Regions from separate parts of the Homo sapiens genome. Here all the other regions are linked to region 1. Evidence: promoter capture Hi-C in 16 types of primary human blood cells and fetal thymus (Javierre and others, 2016). All regions are on one chromosome and are shown on one strand. Each heading gives the region's core, a stretch centred on a gene start or on the middle of the fragment in contact. The rest is flanking DNA. Distances are from core to core; before and after follow the strand shown. Region 1 holds the start of CSTF2 (cleavage stimulation factor subunit 2). Region 2 overlaps SRPX2 (sushi repeat containing protein X-linked 2). Region 3 has its middle 5.2 kb from the start of TRMT2B. Region 4 has its middle 1.9 kb from the start of TSPAN6.

Region 1 (2,781 bases), core at 111-2,610:
TTGGACCATTCCATTACACAAGGTGTCCTCTTGGTCACACAGTGATTGCAAATGGGACTCTAGAGTCATGGAAATGGGTATACTCTTCTCAAACTTTCCATCTTTACCAGAATTACTTCTTAAAGTGATATGCTTCATGGTGTAAACTAGCACTTATTAATTTTTTCTAAATATTTATCATATTTCATATACTTTTATTTTGGAGATGGAGTTTCGCTCTTGTTGCCCAGGCTGGAGCGCAATGGCAGATCTCGGATCACCGCAACATCCATCTCCCGGGTTCAAGCGATTCTCTGGCCTCAGCCTCCTGAGCAGCTGGGATTACAGGCATGCGCCACCACGCCCGGCTAATTTTGTATTTTTAGTAGAAAAGGGGTTCTCCATGTTGGCCAGGCTGGTCTCCAACTCCCGACCTCAGGTGATGCGCCCGCCTCGGCCTCCCAAAGTGTTGGCATTACAGGCATGAGCCACCGCGCCCGGCCCATATACTTTTAATACATGTGGAATTAATAAAAACGTCCATGCCTCCAATTCCGTGGCTATTTTACCGTCTTCCTTTTTCGGACAAGTCCCTCAAAGGTAGCGCTCTTGGCTCCTTCCTTTGCTTATCCCCTAACCCTGTCCTCCTGAGGTGCCCCCTGGATTTCCTCCAACCCCGGCAGGGTCTGCCTTTCCGGGATGATACAACGACCTGCCCTGCATGCCATATCCCAGGCGCGTGGGCACCAAAGTGTGGAAAAACCGATGAATGACGTTTTCTGTTTCCGATACTCTGCCTGCCAGAATCCCCTGCCGCACCGCCCCACCACGAAGCACATGGAACCCACGGACTACACGAGGACAGAGGTCTGTTCTCCCTTTACCTCTCCCATTTCTTTAACTATGCTTCTCTCGGCTGGCATGCCCTTTCCTCATCTCACTCCACACACGAACAGGTTTAGCAAATAATATGCACGCTGCTGGGACGGGCCCAAGCATTTCCCTCCCTTGATAGGGCGGAACTAAAATGCAAGCCCCACAGTTGTCAGCAAAGGACTTCCCTGTTACCATGGTAAAGCCGCTGCGCCTTTATTGTGGTTGAGGAGTACTTGCATCAACCTAAGAGAAAATTAATAAGAAGGAAGTCTGCAGGCTGAAACCCTTCAAATTAGCCTGGACTCGCCTGCATCTGGCTCGGAACAGAGTTAATCTCAGGAGTGAGAATATAGCCCTCCGGTGGACGCAACTCGCGCCTGCGGCTAACAGAATGTCTCCAGGGGAGGGGCTCTGCGTCCGTTCCGCCCAGGCCCTTCCGGCTCACGCGCCGTACGGAAGCGTGCTCAGCGCTGGGCTTGTGCTCCGTACGGAAGTGTGCTTTGGCGCACCGGAAGCCGACTCAACAGAGCTATGGCGGGTTTGACTGTGAGAGACCCAGCGGTGGATCGTTCTCTACGTTCTGTGTTCGGTGAGAGGAATTCGTTGTAGTCAAGCTTCGGGGAGGGACTCCCCTCTGCACCTTCTATCTCATGAATCGCTACCGGAGCCGCTGACGGTTCGGACGTGCAGTTCTCCCTGCTTATCCTGTAGGGCGTCCAACCTGGTGGACTCATGAGCAAAGAGATATTCCCATTCTGCCGAGGTCTCGTAGGCTTTCCGCAATATCAGTGGGGAAGTTAGACTAGCGTTCAGCTTCTGTGCGTTTCTCCTTTCATGAGCTTCAATTATTCTCTAGAGGAGAAGGCTCACGGTAACAGCTCCTCACTGTCCCGTACTACTTCTCATCCTCTGCCCCAGAATACAGACTATATGCTGAGGGTATAGATCCTAGTGTCCACTTACTGTCCTCTCCTAAGGACTTTCATCCTTTGCTTTTTATCTGTAACATTTTAGTGCATCAATAGTGGTAGCGGCCACCTGGTGTCCTGAGATGGCTTGTAAGTGAATGAATGAATGAACTATTAAGATCTCCTCAGAGGAATTTTAAAAAGGATCGAAACGATTCTGAATTATCTTTTTGGCTGAAATAAGTTGTTTTTAAAAATACGTGTGATTATTTTAGAGTACCATTTGAAAGGGACATGACAAAGTAGTTCAGAATACTTTTTAAACATCTTTCACTACATTCATCGTCATTCTCCCTTAAATGTTGTATGTGTGGAAATACATAGGAACCTGTTTTAAAAATTATATTAAATAACATTGATATTTTTTGTAGTCACTGATGAGACTTGCAGATCTTTAGGTAAATACCAGTGCCAAAGTATTTATTTGCACCAAAGTTAAGGAAAATCTAACACGTGTCAGATCAGTCTGAGAACTAACATTTGAGAGTACCTACACATTTTGTATTTAGTTTCAGTGGTATATTTCCTTTGTTAAGAGGTCTGAAGAAATACAATGGAATTGGGATTGGAGAACACTATTTTGAGTCTTATATTTGATGATATAAGTTTACTTTCTCACTAAAGATCTATGTTATAAACTCAGAATTTTAATGTTACCTATTTTCTTCCTTAGTGGGGAACATTCCTTATGAAGCTACTGAAGAGCAGTTGAAGGACATCTTTTCTGAGGTTGGACCTGTTGTTAGTTTCAGGTGAGATCCCCTTTTCCTTCATGGTGGGAGCTTCTTAAAAATCACCACAGATTTGGCTCTTAGTAATAATGGCAGGTTTTCTTTACTGGTGACTTTTCACATACATTTTGTTCTTGTAACAGCTTTATTGAGATATAATTGATACACTATACAATTGACATTTATTCTTACCTAAAATATGTTTTTTTCGTTAAAAATGTTTTTTA
Region 2 (2,793 bases), core at 17-2,516, 150 kb before region 1:
ACTTATTTAAGATATTTTAGAAGAGATGAGTCACGTCTTCCTTTGACCCTTCACCCATAACACACATACCATTCTCACAGGAGGCCACATGGTGCAGTAGAGTCAGACTTTGATTCAAAGCCCAACTCTGTCACGTGACAGTAGGCTTGAGTTTCCTCATCTGTAAAAAGGGAAGATTTCCTACTTCATAAAGTGGTTGGAGAAATTAAAGAAATAGTATATGAAGCCTTGCACATAAAAAGCATTTGATATATATTAATGCCCTTTTGCACAAGAGGTCAAGAATTGCTTGGGTTCTACCTAGAAATCAAGAGCCTTATTTCTGAGCTGGGTTACTTGGCACCTGTGTTATTTCTCTCTCAAAACTACATAATGGTAGGAGGAGTAAAAGAAAAAGTCCCCGCCTCCCAGAGAAATTGAAGGATCCAGAAAGAAGTGCTTATAGCAGGGAATGTCTCCCCTCACCTCCTGTATGAACATCTCTCTCCTTCCTCCAGTATAGGAGGGTCTGCAAAGCTAAAGGAAGAGTTCCTTTGTTACAAGATAGAAAAGTGGTGCCACTTTAAAGATGATTTCTCAGTGTTCTCCTTAGATACCAAATACAAAGGACGAGGGATCAAGCTCAGCGAAAGTATCAGGCATTTAAGGTATCAGGCAGCAATGCGGGGAAAGGTGAATTTTCTTCAATCAGCATAGGATGGTTAGGGAAGAGCATTTATCACTTTGGTTCTTATCCTTCAAGCCAGGGGAAAAGCAACAGTGAGGACATCAGAGACAAAAGCATTTATAGAACTAACAAACACAAACGTTTGACAAGTGAGAAAGCTTTATTAAAGCACACATACATGTCAGGGGGGTGGGAAACAAAAGAGCAAGTTACAGCCCGGGATCCCAAGTTATGCCTTCCATTACAATTGCAATCCACACCAAATCAATCTTTGAAAACATTCCTCCATTCGGTTCATACATACAGTAGAAACCACTGTGGCTGCCCTTAATCCAGTGTGCTTATAGGAAATCAGTTAGCAGCTGACTCTGTTGAAAGGGATTTCCTCTCTGCTATACACTCCTTCCACACACAACTTTGGGTAGAAACGCTTATGAGAATAGAAAGGTCAGTTTGATCAATGAGTACCAGAAGATGAAACTTAGCTCACTAGACCCTTCTTTGAAAAGCCTCAACACACTACACCCATGTAATATGTAGGTCAAATTTAGGAAACAATAGCAAAAACAGGAACTGAAAGCTCATCAAGCAGGAAGTCAGAATAACAGGGAGACTCTGTCTACATTCCCTTAGAGCCCTTAACAGTCCCCAGCCTGGAGAAACACTGGGCCAATTGAGATAACACTTGGCTCTTCTGGTTGACACAGTGGGATGTAGACCATGCTCTGTTTGATAACACACCCCAGACGCAAACACTAAGACAGATGTGGTACATGAGGATGAATATATCTCATCTTTCATTCGAGAAATGAGGAGCTCTCTCTCCAATGACTGCAGTATCAGTTTAAAATGCAGAAAATTCAGCATGGGCTGTGAGACACTTTACCCTCAGTCACTCTGGTCCTCTGAGATCAGCTAGAAGCTCTCACTGGGCATCCTCGTGATTTAGTCAAAATACATTATCTAATTAAAGTGCTTTTCAAAAGCAGCTCCATTATAAGAGTCCCCCAAAGGTCTAGTAAAGATATCTAGAACTGGAAAAAGCTTGGGAATTCTGTTAGCATTTCAAAGAAAAGCATTAGACCAAAGCAAGGTGGAAACTGCTTAAAAACTAGAAAAGTTAAATTTAAAAGCCAAGTTCCAGAAGTTTATCCAGGTAGAAAATAAGTTAAAAGCATAAATTGGAGAGGAGAAAGAGGAAGGAACTACTCACCTCTCCCCAACATTCCTGTCTTTACTAACCAACCCTGCTTCCCAGAGCCTTAAAACCCAGACTGGTCCTAATGCGAAAGGTAGCCAGGGCTTCCTAGGGAAGTAGGAACAATGATAGCAAGACAGAAGATAAAAAGTTGTTTTAAAAGCTGTTTTTAAGTTAAGTGAACCTTATAAAGACATAAGAAAAAATGGACTCTGAAAATAAACTAGATTATACACAGAAACATTTTAAAGAAATGCTTATTCTTGAGACTGCTTTAAAAAGAAGAACAAGTCTGCATCACTCTAGCCAGCATAATGAGATTTGCAGAAAATACATGTTTGTACACATACACACACACACACACACACACACATACACACATACACACATACACATTAAATTATAAATCTTTGCTCTTGATTTCTTCACTTCCTCTGACCTGCCCTCGCCAGGGCTGGACCTGCAGAAGAGGACAGGGACTCATAAACCCAGCTTCTGCTTGGCCATTGAGGAACGGAGCTGCAGAGTCCCTTCTGCCCAAGACCCTGGGTACTGTCGCATCTTCTGCCACAGGCTCACTTCTTCCCCAGTCGAGTCCATCCAGTCCACCACTTCCCCATTACTGATCCCTGAGGAGAAACACCAGAAGAGGCTAAAGAGGGGCCCCACTCTCAGCCCACCAGGGAAGATGGGTTGTACAGCAAGATTAGCCACCCCATAACAGTTTCCTACGAAGATGGGCTAATGGCCACAGCAGTCTGGGAAGTGCTCCCTCACCTGTATTCCTGAGACTCTGTCAAGAGACTCTGGGTTGATGAAATCAGACTCCAAATGGCACACAGTCACTAGAGACTTCTTATTCTGAGGCTGTTACAGAGTTCTAGTGCCTGACAACTCATGCCAGAGCTATTGCCAACTGTACTTAAAC
Region 3 (2,729 bases), core at 37-2,536, 240 kb after region 1:
GGCCGGGTAAGGAGGCTCATGCCTGTAATCCCAGCACTTTGGGAGGCTGAGGCGGGCAGTATCACCTGAGGTCAGGAGTTCAAGACCAGCCTGGCCAACATGGTGAAACCCCGTCTCTACTAAAAATACAAAAAGTAGCTGGGCGTGGTGGTGCATGCCTGTAATCCCCGCTATTCAGGAGCTGAAACAGGAGAATTGCTTTTTTTTCTTCTTTTTTTCTTTTCTTTTCCTTTTTTTTTTTTTTTTTTTTTTTTTTTGAGATGGAGTTTCACTCTTGTTGCCCAGGCTGGAGTGCAATGGTGTGAATTCAGCTCACTGCAACCTCCGCCTCCTGGGTTCAAGCAATTCTCCTGCTTCATCCTCCCAAGTAGCTGGGATTACAGGGACCTGCCACCACACCTGGCTAATTTTTTGTATTTTTAGTAGAGACAGGGTTTTGCCATGCTGGCCAGGCTGGTCTTGAACTTCTGACCTCAGGCGATCCACTCACCTCGGCCTCCCAAAGTGCTAGGATCACAGGCATGATCCACCGCACCTGGCCAAGAATTGCTTGAACGCAGGAGGCAGAGGTTGCAGTAGGCTGAGATCGCGTCATTGCACTCCTGCCTGGGCAACAATAACGAAAGTCCCTCTCAAAACAAAAACAAAAACAAACAAACAAACAAAAAAACACCTAAATCCAAAGGGCATCAGCCTAATGGCTAAGGTCAACATGACCATAAACCGTAAATGACATCTCCAACCAGAAACATTCCAACCATAAGATAAACCCCTCCCCAACCAGAGACATGCCAGCCCCAAGTAACCTCCCCTCCAACCAGAGACATTCCAACCCTGCAATAAACTTCTCCCCACCACAGTAACATTCCAAGCCTGTAATAAGCTCCCTCACCCTAAAACCAATAAATACTCTTAGTCTGTAAGAGAGAGCACTCCTGACCAAAATCGGCCAGAAGACCCTCTCCGGTTGATTATCCAAAATAAACCTGTCTTTGTCTGTTGAGCCACTTTTCATGTTTCTTTCCTCTTTCTTTAACTCTTACAAAAATTAGTTGGCATTTAGGGCTGGTTTGGTTCCATTAAACAAGTTCTTTGGTGCACCTAGGACTGTGCTATATGCTATGAGGGATAGATTCACAGACCACACCCTCAAAGATTGTATGACCTGATAGGAAGATAATACTCAGTGTGAGAATACACAACTATTGGGGCTTTGGTAAGTCTCAGAAAACAGCCACCATCTTGGTACCAAAGGAAGGAAAAGAATGTGATAATTGAGTTGAATGCATAGGATATGAATAATCTGAGAGGAACTGGGACTGCAGCATGAAAAGAGGAAATGAGTAATAATTGTACAAGGCCCATGAGGAGGCAGACCTGGCTAGATAAGAGTTTGGTGCTTAAGCCATTGGCCATTGGCTGATCAGATAGACAGGTCAGGGAAAATAACAAAGGGTCTGGAGGGCTGGGATGAGGAGTTTGAGCTAGTTCCTGTAACAATAGGAAGCTAATGAAGAGTTTTTGGGTTTTTTTTTTTTCATAAGATGTTTCTGCAAGATAACTCTAGGAGCTGTATATAGATGGATTTTAGGATGTAGTGATGCAATCACCTGACCGGTTCTTCCTGCTCACTGCACAGACAAAATCAATTCACTGAGACCACAGCATTGCAGTAAAGAAAGAGTTTAGGCCAGGCACGGCAGCTCATGCCTGTAATCCCAGCACTTTGGGAGGCTGAGGTGGGCGGATCACCTGAGGTCAGGAGTTCAAGACCAGACTGGCTAACATGGGGAAACCCCATCTCTACTAAAAATACAAAAATTAGCTGGGTATAGTGGTGGGTGCCTGTAATCCCAGCTGCTTGGGAGGCTGAGGCAAGAGAATCACTTGAATCCAGGAGGCGGAGGTTGCAGTGAGCCAAGATCACGCCACTGCACTCCAGCCTGGGTGACAGAGAAAAACTCCATCTCAAAAAAAAAAAAAAAAAGAGTTTAATTGATGAGAGCTCGGCCACAACATGTAGGAGATGGAGTTATTACTCACATCAATCTCCCTGAAAATTTGGAGGCTAGAATTTTTCAAAGATAGTTTGGTAGGCAGTTATAGTTATATGCATACACAGCTCTACACCTTTCATCACCTCCTCTTCCCCTTTGGTTGGGGATGCAATCATAGGGGTATGGAAAATGGCCCTCTTGGACTGAGTCTGCTCCTGGGTCGGGACCACAGTAGGTGTGGGGTGGGACAATTCAGTAAGTGTGGGGTGGGACTCAGAATCCATATGTGTTACAATCATCCAAGCTGATTATGTTGCAGATGTCCCTGACCATATTTTGAGAAAATTTTGCAGTATGCAGTATAGCTTGCCTTAGCACAGAAACTTATGACCTCCCATCTGAATGTATGCAACAGTCTCCCTCAGCTTCCAGGTCACTGAAACTGCCTTTGCAAAATGATGACATTAAGAGAAATCTGACATGGTTGACTCCATCTTGCCTTCAACTTTCAAGCTGTCCTTGGCCATTCATGGGCATGGGCCACGCTAACTTTGAGAGAAAATTAGTTTATAGTTTAAATGATAACAGCCTTTCCCAAAAACTAAACCACCCTTGTAAAACTAATGAAAGGCCACCAACCAGGTTAGGAGGATGAGAGGGGCCTGCATTATACTAAGATGTAGGCATAGTTAAATGATTTCCAGCCATTATTCCAGAGGTCACAAAATATGC
Region 4 (2,793 bases), core at 27-2,526, 180 kb before region 1:
TGGAATTAGGCTGATTTTTTTCTCACTTGTGTGCTTTTCAATTTGTGAACATTGTTTTATGGGTTAGGAAGGGGAGATGTGAATGGAGGAAAATAATCACCACTTGTTGAAAGAATTTCTAAGCTAGGTATTAAAGATAATAATGACTTTAGAATTTACCTGCAGGACTTTGCAAAACCCCAGTATTCCTCTCCTTTTTTATCCCCTAAGTAATTGGAAAGTTGAGGGAAAGTATTTTTACATAATAGTGAAATGTAAGTTCAGCTATTCGCTGTAAACTTTTAAAAAGAGAGAGTGCAATGGAAAAATCCCTGGTGAGTGTGACCTCCTCTTAAATGTTAAAACAGAAAGGCACTGTACATTCCAGCCACCTGGTTTTTCCCATCAAAACCCAGCTGATTACAGAGAGATTAAAACCTAATGTTATATATTGTGAATATATTGGTCTATGTTGTTACAACACAGGAGGTGCGTTAAGGTCTGATTTCTCAACTAAAGCGTCAGCTCTTTGAAGGCAGAGACTGAGTGTTAAGTGAGTTTGTGTTATCTCTAGAGGAACGGGGTTAGAAGGCTGTATCAGTTCCCTATGCAATCCAACCCTTCATCATTGACACAAGCTTAATATCACAAGTGGCTATTTACTCTATTGCCATTGCAAAAAGACCTGCATTTGTGGAGGAGAGATGAATACTCAAACTTTTCTGCTTGAAACGTTGCTTTAAACATACACCTCAGGACCAGAACACAGGAAAGTTCCATTGACTTGGTCACACAGAGCTTCCCTGTGCTTCGAATATTGACCTAGGACCAGTTCCTATAACATCTTGCCAGACGTCTGAGGTGCAAGGCAGCAACTGTTGGAAAATTAATTATTGCATTGCCAGGCTTTATACTAAAATTTTTACTAAAATTTGAAAGGCCTAATACACAAATACATGGAGAGAATGGATAAACGATACATCTACATACACCTTCAAACACTTTGAGGTAAAGTCGTTAGGAAATACCAAATATTCAACATGGTGGAGGGGGGTGTCTAAGTATATGCAAAGATTTCTCCCTAGGCTAAATGACCCCAACTGAAGGGTTCTTATACTAAAAACAAGGATCAAGGGAAGTCTTGATAACTTCTTGTCATCTTAAAGAGAAGTTTCTCTGAAACTTAGATATGTACTGAAAGGGATTTACAGTGTGAGCCCAAGAGCAAAGAAATATGTCTGTAGCTGAAGAAAAAACAAAATAGCAAAGCAAAAGCCACATCTTATTTCCAAGAATGTGTTGACTTTCCTCCTCTCCCTTCCTCTACCACTCACAACGCTGCTTTGTTTGAATAACACTCGGTGCCAAATTAAACCAAATGCTGACATGGAAATTCATATTCCTATGGCTACAACACCTTGCACCATTGCCTCCTACTCTGCTACACCCACTTCCATCTCCCCACCCCCACAATGCCACCAAACCGAGAAATTCAATTTAGTTCAAACCTAGGCCTGGGTTTGGGTACAAACCCAGACCAAAGGGGCATCTAATCCCGTTTAAGGCAATTTAAGAAGTATTTCCCTAGGCCACTAGATAAATGTATTCTTTAAAGTATTAATAATGACTGTGATAATAAGTATTGACTGTATACCAACCACTATTGCTAAGAGCTTGATACACATTACCTCGTATGCACACATCACAAGAACCCTATTATGAGGTTGACACACCTAGCACCTTCATTTTACAGATGAAGAAACAGGTTGAAAGAGACCAAGTAAGCTGCCTAGGACTAAACCTGGGCAACTTCTGTGTCTTTCATCAGAAATGGGGCCCACTTTGTGATGAAACATAGCTGCTGTTGTACGTACAGCTGCCTCTGCGCAGAGTAACCTGAGTAAAGACTGCTGTTGCACAGACATTTAACCTAAAACAAGGACTCCTCGGAGCCTCTGAAGCTTAAGAACCTCAATGATTGCCCCAATTCTGCCTTGCACTTGGGGTTTTTTGGTTGAGTTTGGCTTTTGCCTTCACTCCAATAGCCCAGCCACCTAGGAAGTAACCCTACCTGCCCCAGAGTGGTAAGGCAGAGAGTTCAGTACTTTTTCTTGTTCAACCTCTTAATTTCTCCCTCTTTCTGAGCACAGAAACACAATTTGATGCCAACAATGTAGGAAAAAAGGAAAATACTTTAAGTATTGTTACTGCTTGTTTTACATGGAACATTTAGTAGCCCCCCTTCCCAATTAATTTCCTGTAACCTTCAAGATTAGGTGTAAATGTTTTTCATTGCTAGACATCAGGCAAGGGAAATGACATAAACAAGGGCTCACTGTTAAGTCAGACCTCCCTTGTGCCACCTCCAGCCTCCCTCCATCCCTACCAAGCCCCTCATCCCAATACAATCTCAACTGATTTCCTACTGCTTTTCCAATGTGAATTTTCTGCTCTGTACCAGGTCAGTATGATCAACCCCCCAATTAAACAAGTCCTATTCCCTAGTCCCTGCCCACCCTCAACTTCACTCATACTTTCTGCTTCTACTGAATATCCAGTTCAATCCCAACTCAGTAAAAAGTCCCTCCTTCCTCACCTCTTTCTCTAACACCATAACTGTCTTAACTACACACTCACTCCCATTAACCCAGCCCTTTAGTCAATTACTGCAATATCTGCTTTGCATTTCTACTTACCTATTCTACATCCTACCGTCTAGATGTTCAGAAACTACTGAAGAGCTAGTGTGGCAGGGCCCCTATGCCCCCTTTTATACTCTCCTCAGTACCCTAGGACATAATGCCCAATTGATGA

The links. The method cuts DNA at HindIII sites, captures the fragments that hold promoters and counts their contacts. A CHiCAGO score of 5 or more calls a contact.
Region 2: a contact is called between a fragment that was not itself captured here and the fragment with the promoter of CSTF2 in region 1, in 2 of 17 cell types (monocytes and total B cells). The highest score is 5.3, in monocytes.
Region 3: a fragment that was not itself captured here is called in contact with the fragment with the promoter of CSTF2 in region 1 in 6 of 17 cell types (non-activated CD4 T cells, naive CD4 T cells, activated CD4 T cells and 3 more); the score reaches 8.3 in non-activated CD4 T cells.
Region 4: a fragment that was not itself captured here is called in contact with the fragment with the promoter of CSTF2 in region 1 in 2 of 17 cell types (fetal thymus and naive CD4 T cells); the score reaches 6.0 in fetal thymus.

What each region holds. Positions count from the first base shown.
Region 1 is chrX:100,819,031-100,821,811 of GRCh38, forward strand. CSTF2 (cleavage stimulation factor subunit 2) reads left to right here and starts at 1,361. Exons shown (of 14, transcript NM_001325.3): 1 at 1,361-1,444; 2 at 2,497-2,575. The coding sequence starts at 1,387. RefSeq lists enhancers at 1,033-1,092, 1,103-1,152, 1,433-1,592. The HindIII fragment of the contact is 13,366 bases long and covers 1-1,467 here.
Region 2 is chrX:100,673,683-100,676,475 of GRCh38, forward strand. It overlaps SRPX2 (sushi repeat containing protein X-linked 2), which reads left to right. Exons shown (of 11, transcript NM_014467.3): 11 at 1-2,106. It overlaps SYTL4 (synaptotagmin like 4), which reads right to left. Exons shown (of 20, transcript NM_001370165.1): 20 at 809-2,494. The coding sequence ends at 2,346. Among named protein-coding and RNA genes, the nearest start is that of SRPX2, 31 kb to the left of the region's middle. The HindIII fragment of the contact is 886 bases long and covers 824-1,709 here.
Region 3 is chrX:101,055,932-101,058,660 of GRCh38, forward strand. No RefSeq gene overlaps it. Among named protein-coding and RNA genes, the nearest start is that of TRMT2B, 5.2 kb to the left of the region's middle. The HindIII fragment of the contact is 4,943 bases long and covers 1-2,729 here.
Region 4 is chrX:100,637,270-100,640,062 of GRCh38, forward strand. No RefSeq gene overlaps it. Among named protein-coding and RNA genes, the nearest start is that of TSPAN6, 1.9 kb to the left of the region's middle. The HindIII fragment of the contact is 1,323 bases long and covers 616-1,938 here.